Regions from separate parts of the Homo sapiens genome. Here region 2 is linked to region 1. Evidence: promoter capture Hi-C in 16 types of primary human blood cells and fetal thymus (Javierre and others, 2016). All regions are on one chromosome and are shown on one strand. The core of a region is centred on a gene start or on the middle of the fragment in contact, and the rest is flanking DNA. Distances in the headings are between cores, read along the strand shown. Region 1 holds the start of PRPS2 (phosphoribosyl pyrophosphate synthetase 2). Region 2 overlaps GEMIN8 (gem nuclear organelle associated protein 8).

What was found. The method cuts DNA at HindIII sites, captures the fragments that hold promoters and counts their contacts. A CHiCAGO score of 5 or more calls a contact.
Region 2: a contact is called between a fragment that was not itself captured here and the fragment with the promoter of PRPS2 in region 1, in 1 of 17 cell types (activated CD4 T cells). The highest score is 5.8, in activated CD4 T cells.

Annotation. Positions count from the first base shown.
Region 1 is chrX:12,789,735-12,792,885 of GRCh38, reverse strand. It overlaps PRPS2 (phosphoribosyl pyrophosphate synthetase 2), which reads right to left and starts at 1,474. Exons shown (of 7, transcript NM_002765.5): 1 at 1,267-1,474. The coding sequence starts at 1,388. RefSeq lists a silencer at 769-1,218. The HindIII fragment of the contact is 8,457 bases long and covers 665-3,151 here.
Region 2 is chrX:14,018,232-14,021,565 of GRCh38, reverse strand. It overlaps GEMIN8 (gem nuclear organelle associated protein 8), which reads left to right. Exons shown (of 5, transcript NM_001042479.2): 3 at 55-102; 4 at 1,032-1,488. The coding sequence starts at 88. Among named protein-coding and RNA genes, the nearest start is that of GEMIN8, 10 kb to the left of the region's middle. The HindIII fragment of the contact is 347 bases long and covers 1,362-1,708 here.

The DNA.
Region 1 (3,151 bases), core at 225-2,724:
ATAGCATCTTCCCCATCAGTATTAACATAACTCCTCCTTAAGAAATTTTTGCCTAACCCCAAGTCAAGATTTTCTGCTAGAAATTTTATAGTTCTAGATTTTACAATTAGGTCTATGATCCACTTCAAAGTTAATTTTTACAAATGGTGAAAAGTATGGATGGAAGTTCATATTTTTTGGCATATGGGTGTCCAACTGTTCCAACACCATTTCTAGAAAATGTTGGTAAAATTGAACCTTTGCCAAAGATATAAAAATTATCAGTAACTGTGGACAGTTAACGGTACTAGACATTGGAGGAAGAAGGGGGAAAAATGAGACCAATTTGAAATGAGTCAAGGAGCTGTGTGGACTCAGGCAGATAGACAAAGGAGCCCCCCAGGTCAGCTTCCGAGGATGGCCACCACCTGAGGCTCTCCTGGACTTGAGAAATGGGTGAAAGTTACAGTCGAATCACGGCGTTGTTGCTGGACACAGCAGAGTCCTAGAACAAGAAGGAAGCTGAAAGTCCATCATCTTTAAAGCAGCAAGAGTAGTGGGAGCAGAGGGGAGCCCAGCACGTGCGTCCTGGGGTTCTCACAGTCTTTCAAACCTTGGCACAACTGCACCCTCTGGATAACGCAGTGGTCTGCGCCCTGGCTGCTCAGGAGAAGCCAGGGAAGCTTGTAAAATCGCTGATCCTCCGCCCGTTGGATCAAACCCTTGGGGGCAGGTCGGGGGAAGCAGCGTTCGGACCGTCCCCAGGTAAACCCAGCGTGCAACCAGAGTTGGGGACGGGGGGAAACCTTTAGTCGCACGCACTGGTCTGAGGTTCAGCTTTGTAGGGACGCGGAAACTGGGACCAGCCAACCCAGGACGTCTCTCCACCGCGCGCTGACCCGATGCGGTTCCCGCCCGCTGCGCCCACTCTCTCCCCGACGGTCTGTGACCGCCCAGACGTCTCCCTTCCGGGCTGGGGACGCCAGGCCGGGCGGCACCGCTGGGAGGCCGGGAGCGGCTCGGGACCGCCGGGTCGCCGCGGTCCCAGGACCGGAGGCCCTGCAACCGGGGGCACAGCCGAGGCGCGCATCGGGACGCGCGGCGCCCCGCCTCGGTTTCTTCGCAGGCGCGGGCGCGGGGGCGCGGAGGCCGCGTTGCCACCGTCCCGCCCCGGAAGGGGGAGCGCGGCGTCCGCGGAGGTGGCCCGGGCAGGCGCCGGCCCCCAACCCGGCCCCGCAGCCGCGTGCCCAGCGCTCTCCCTAGCCCGGCCGCCGGCGCGGCCCCCACCTGGTCTCCTGGTTGCTGAACTTCTTCGTGACCACCTTGCCCAGCTCCAGGCCCAGGCGGTCGGCCACGCGCTGGGACAGGTCCTGATGCGAGCTGCCGCTGAACAGCACGATGTTGGGCATGGTGGGGCGCGGAACTCCGAGGGGCGCGCGGCGGCGGAGGAGGTGGCGGAGGCAACAGCGACAGCGACGCGGGAGGCTGCTGCTGCGGGAGCGGGAAAGCGCGGCGGCTAGATGTAGGGAAGGGGAGGAGCGGAGGGGGAGGAGCCGGAGGAGGAGCTAGAGGGGGCAGAGAGGGAGGAAGAGCGGGCGTGGAGGGGGAGCTGGAAAGTGCCGGGGGGCGGGGGCACAGCCCTGGCAGCAGTTTTGGACGCCCTGGGTGGTCCTGAAGCCCGAAGGTGTCCTTGCTCCGCGAGAGAGCTCCGAGCTTCATTCTTGATCTTCCAGACCTGCCTCGCGGGGAGAGCCAATGAACCGCGGTTAGCTGGGCACAGAGGGAGAGTTCGGGCCGGGGGGATCCCTCGAGGTGCTTCGCAGCCCGGAGCGACTTCCCACCCCGGAACACCGCAAACCCAGTGTGGGCGACTGGTGTTCAGCTATAGCAAGGGTCTGCAAACTACAGCCTATGGGCCAGATCGCGAGAGCTCCCTGTGTTTGTACCAGAGAGCTAAGCATGGTTTTCATACATGAACATTTGCACTTTATGTGATGATAGCAGACACCGCCTTTGAACTCCAATTAAGAGAAATATCCCCCCCGCAAAAGAATTCCTTTTCTCTCATTAATAGATGTGAGTTGCAAATAATTGTACTCAAATATTACCGTATTTTGGATTATATCAATAAAAACATTGTGACAATTTTTTCTCTCTTGTTATGTAAGTTCCTACGTAATATCTTCCCTTTTCTTGCTTGGTCTGCAAAATGTAAATATTGGCCATGTGGTCCCTCATAGTTCAAACTTGATGACCCCTGAACTACAGAGTTGCCCCTGCACCATGTGTCCTTAAAAAATCCAACCACTATGTGAGTCCTCATCACAGGCTGAGGGGAAGTATTGCTCTTGGTGGCTCACTGGATCAAACCAAGTCCCCCAGATTCACCATTTTTCGGTAGATGTGATGGTCCTTGGGGCACTTCACAACCTTCTGCCTGTTGGGTGCTCAAGGGCCTGATCCCAGGAACACAGATCTCCCTAGACAATCCAGCTCAGTCCCTCCACATCCCTGGAGTCAGGGCCTCCTTCCTCTCTTTCCTGCTAGAAACCAGCAAAAAGGTTTTCTCAAGATGCCAATGCAGTACCAGAGCCAACTTCAGGGCACAAACCAAGTGTAGGAGAAAGGAAAGCAGTCCCTGTCTATAGAGGGCTGGTTGGTGATGCTGGTCACAGTTTCACACTCCTCAACAAAGGCTGATTCAACCGGGTAGATAAATGGCTTGGTTTTACTAATGTTTGCCACGAATTGGCTCTCCATCAACAGCAAAGCCCACTTGCAATTGGGTTGTAGCCTACTCTAATCAGACTTCATAATGGGATTTGGGAGATTACAGGGATGATTCGCATCATTGGGATTTTTCATCTGGGTCCTTGTACTTTGCAAGGAGATTACTTGGCACATCGAGTGTTTCTTGTAAACTTTTGTATCTGCCAGCCTATCAAAAAGTTATTCAAACTGACAATTTTAGCAGCATTTCTGGCCCTTTTTCATTCCGCCTAGAGATGCATATGTGCCCTATTATGTGAGAAAACAAACAAAAACCCCTATCTGCAATGGTTTATTATCTATGTATTTCACAGCTAATTACCATAGCAATGAGATTTATACTTGACCCACTATGTTTAAAATTTTTATTGAGTCTGCTAATGTAGTTATATTTAAACTCTTC
Region 2 (3,334 bases), core at 286-2,785, 1.2 Mb before region 1:
AATATCACACAGCCATACTGATCAGACGTTTGCACTGTGATTCTTCTTTCCTAGTTTCAGCACCCATTTGGACTTTCACAATCAGAGATGGCAGCGGTAAAGGTAAGATTTTTATTTTTTTATTTTTTTTTTGAGCTCGTAAGTAAAAAAGGTAAACTTTAGTCTTTTTTTTTATACTTTAAGTTTTAGGGTACATGCGCACAACGGGCAGGTTAGTTACATATGTATACATGTGCCATGTTGGTGTGCTGCACCCATTAACTCGTCATTTAACATTAGGTATATCTCCTAATGCTATCCCTCCCCCCTCCCCCCACCCCACAACAGTCCCTGGTGTGTGATGTTCCCCTTCCTGTGTCCATGTGTTCTCATTGTTCAATTCCCACCTGTGAGTGAGAACATGCGGAGTTTGGTTTTTTGTCCTTGCGATAGTTTGCTGGTAAATTTTAGTCTTTAAAGTTTGGTATTCTCATTGCACGATGGAGAAGACCTAAGAAATACAAAAGTAAAAGCACTATTGGGTGCATTCCTAGACATCTCTTACCCCAGGCATTTAGGGGTGGCTCAGGCCAGCAAGTTAGTTTAGGGGGCAGAAAGGGAAAAACTAAAGTCTGTCATGCTTGTCAGTCTAGTGTGGTTCTTAGCAGGCCGTTGCTCAGTTGGCAGTAGTCATTTAATTACAGTGGGTAGAGAGGGCTAAGGTGATAAACATCCAGTCTTCTCTCTCCCTGCGTCTCATCTAGAAACGATCACTAGCCTTCATCCCCACATTATAATGCTCCATAGCTTTAATTGGCTGGCTTGTGCATACCTTATGTACATGGACTTAGCAAGTGTGCATACACTTGGTGTCCACTGTGGGCCTGGACCTATCTCACACAATATTTTGGGCCCAGTAGCCTCCTCATGTAGGTAGGTATTTAGCAAATACTAAGTAAATACCTGTTGGGTAGCAGATTAAACATTTGAAGATTTCTCTTGAGGATAATAAACACTTTGGTGTCCACCCTCCACCTCCTTTCATTTTGTAGGCATCAACATCGAAAGCTACCAGGCCTTGGTATTCTCATCCGGTATATGCAAGATACTGGCAACATTATCATCAAGCAATGGCTTGGATGCAAAGCCATCACAATGCCTACAGGAAGGCCGTGGAATCCTGTTTCAATCTTCCATGGTACTTACCTTCTGCGCTTCTTCCCCAAAGCTCTTACGATAATGAGGCTGCGTATCCTCAGTCCTTCTATGACCATCATGTGGCCTGGCAGGACTACCCCTGCAGTTCTTCACATTTCAGAAGATCTGGGCAGCATCCACGTTACAGCAGTAGGATCCAGGCATCCACAAAAGAAGACCAAGCTTTGTCCAAAGAGGAAGAGATGGAGACTGAGTCAGATGCAGAGGTAGAATGTGACCTGAGCAATATGGAAATCACTGAAGAGCTCCGCCAGTACTTTGCAGAGACCGAGAGGCATAGAGAAGAACGACGTAAGTTCAGGCCTCTGTCTCTTCATGCTTCCTTTCCTTGCCCTGCCTTTTACATTTTTTTTCTCTAATATATAAAGTAATTTTATAATTCTTCATTGGCTAGGGTAATATTCCAAATCCAGTCCTAAGCCTGGAAAAGCTATGGGGATGCTGTACCTTGCTTATGTTAGTTTCTGGAGTTGTTTTAGTATAAGACATTTTTTTGTTCCAGAACAAAGCTTATCCTAATAGTAGTTCTACTATTTATTAACCATTAGACACTCTACCAAATGGAGTGTGTATGCATGCATGCTTGTGTGTGTGCGTGCTCTGATCTACACAGCAGTCCCTCAGAGTATTAAACTCATTTTATATATGAGGAAAGTGAACCTTAAAAAGGTTAATTGACTTGTTCCGTGGTACACAACTAGTAATTTGCTGTTAGGATCCAAACCAAATCTGCCTACCTCTACTTCCTGTACTGCTTTCTGTATACTAGGACTTGTCCCTGAGACTGCTAGGTTCCTAAAATACTTTTGCCATTCCTCTGGGACACATCTTGGAGATGTCCTTGGTGCTAGAGGTCCCAAATCTTAAATAGCATGAACCTAAACAGAGTAACGAAATGCCTGGCACTTACAACTTTCCTGTTGGTTCTGCATTGAGGCCCTGTCCATGGGGTCAGAGAATTATGATAAAGGTCTTATATCTTCAGTCAAAAACAGGAATTTTCTTTTTAAATTTCTTACCACCTTACTAGAAAGAACTAGAACAGCTTTTGTGCTCTCCTATTAAAATTCACCAGACCATTTCTAAGTACCTCTAACTGAGATACAAATGCTTCTTTCCCTATTATAACCAGTATTCATTCTCAATTTTGTTTTAAGTGAGGCCTAATTGTATGACATTTTACCTACAATTTTCCAATGACACAGAAGCGTAGAAACCTGGGAATGGGAGTTTCATTCCTGTCTGTCATTGTCAGCATTTTCCTAATGATGAATTAGCTTTTATTGATCCCCACTGGATGCCAAGAACTGAGCACTGGGCTTTGTATAAAATATTATATCCTTTAGTATCTTCGTCCGTGATTCTTCACTAAACTACTTGTTCAGATTTTTTTGACTTCCTTTCTTTTGTTTAAACTGTGTACTTCTTTAAGCATATTAGAAAGTATATCCAGCCAGGTGTGGTGGCTCACACCTGTAGTCCCAGCAACTCGGGAGGATGGCTTGAGCCCAGGAGTTTGAGGCTGCAGTGAGCCACGATCACACCACTGTACTCCAGCCTGGGTGACAGAGCGAGACCCTGGCTCAAAAAAAAAAAAAAAAAGAAAAGAAAAGAAAGAAAAGAAAAAGAAAAGAAAGAAAGAAGTATATCCAAACAAATACTTTTAAGACAGTACTTTCTATTACACACAGAATACTTTTGCTTGATCTCCAGAAATAAATTTTACCCTTTTTAAAAATATAGATACGAAACAACCATTAGTCTAATATATACAACAAATGAGAAGCATTGGAGCATGTCCATGTTTGGGTTGGAATGCTGTTTGTTACAGCTTTTGACAGAGAAAATGGGATGGAGATCGAGTTTATTACTCTTGTCCTTACCAGAAAGTAGAATAACATGTTTTGCCCACTAGAGGTTGATACTTTTATGATGGAAATTGTAATTATGGATGGAAGCAAATCCCAGTCATCTCAAAGGTGACTTTGAATTATCTGCTGGTTTAAAATAAACTTGAGTTAGTCAATAAAAAGTGGATATGAATAAAATAAAGATAAAACAATGAAATGTGTCCTTGCACCAAAGAAAAAATGTGAACGGTTCAGTTACAGATATTGTTAACAACCATCCCTATTCC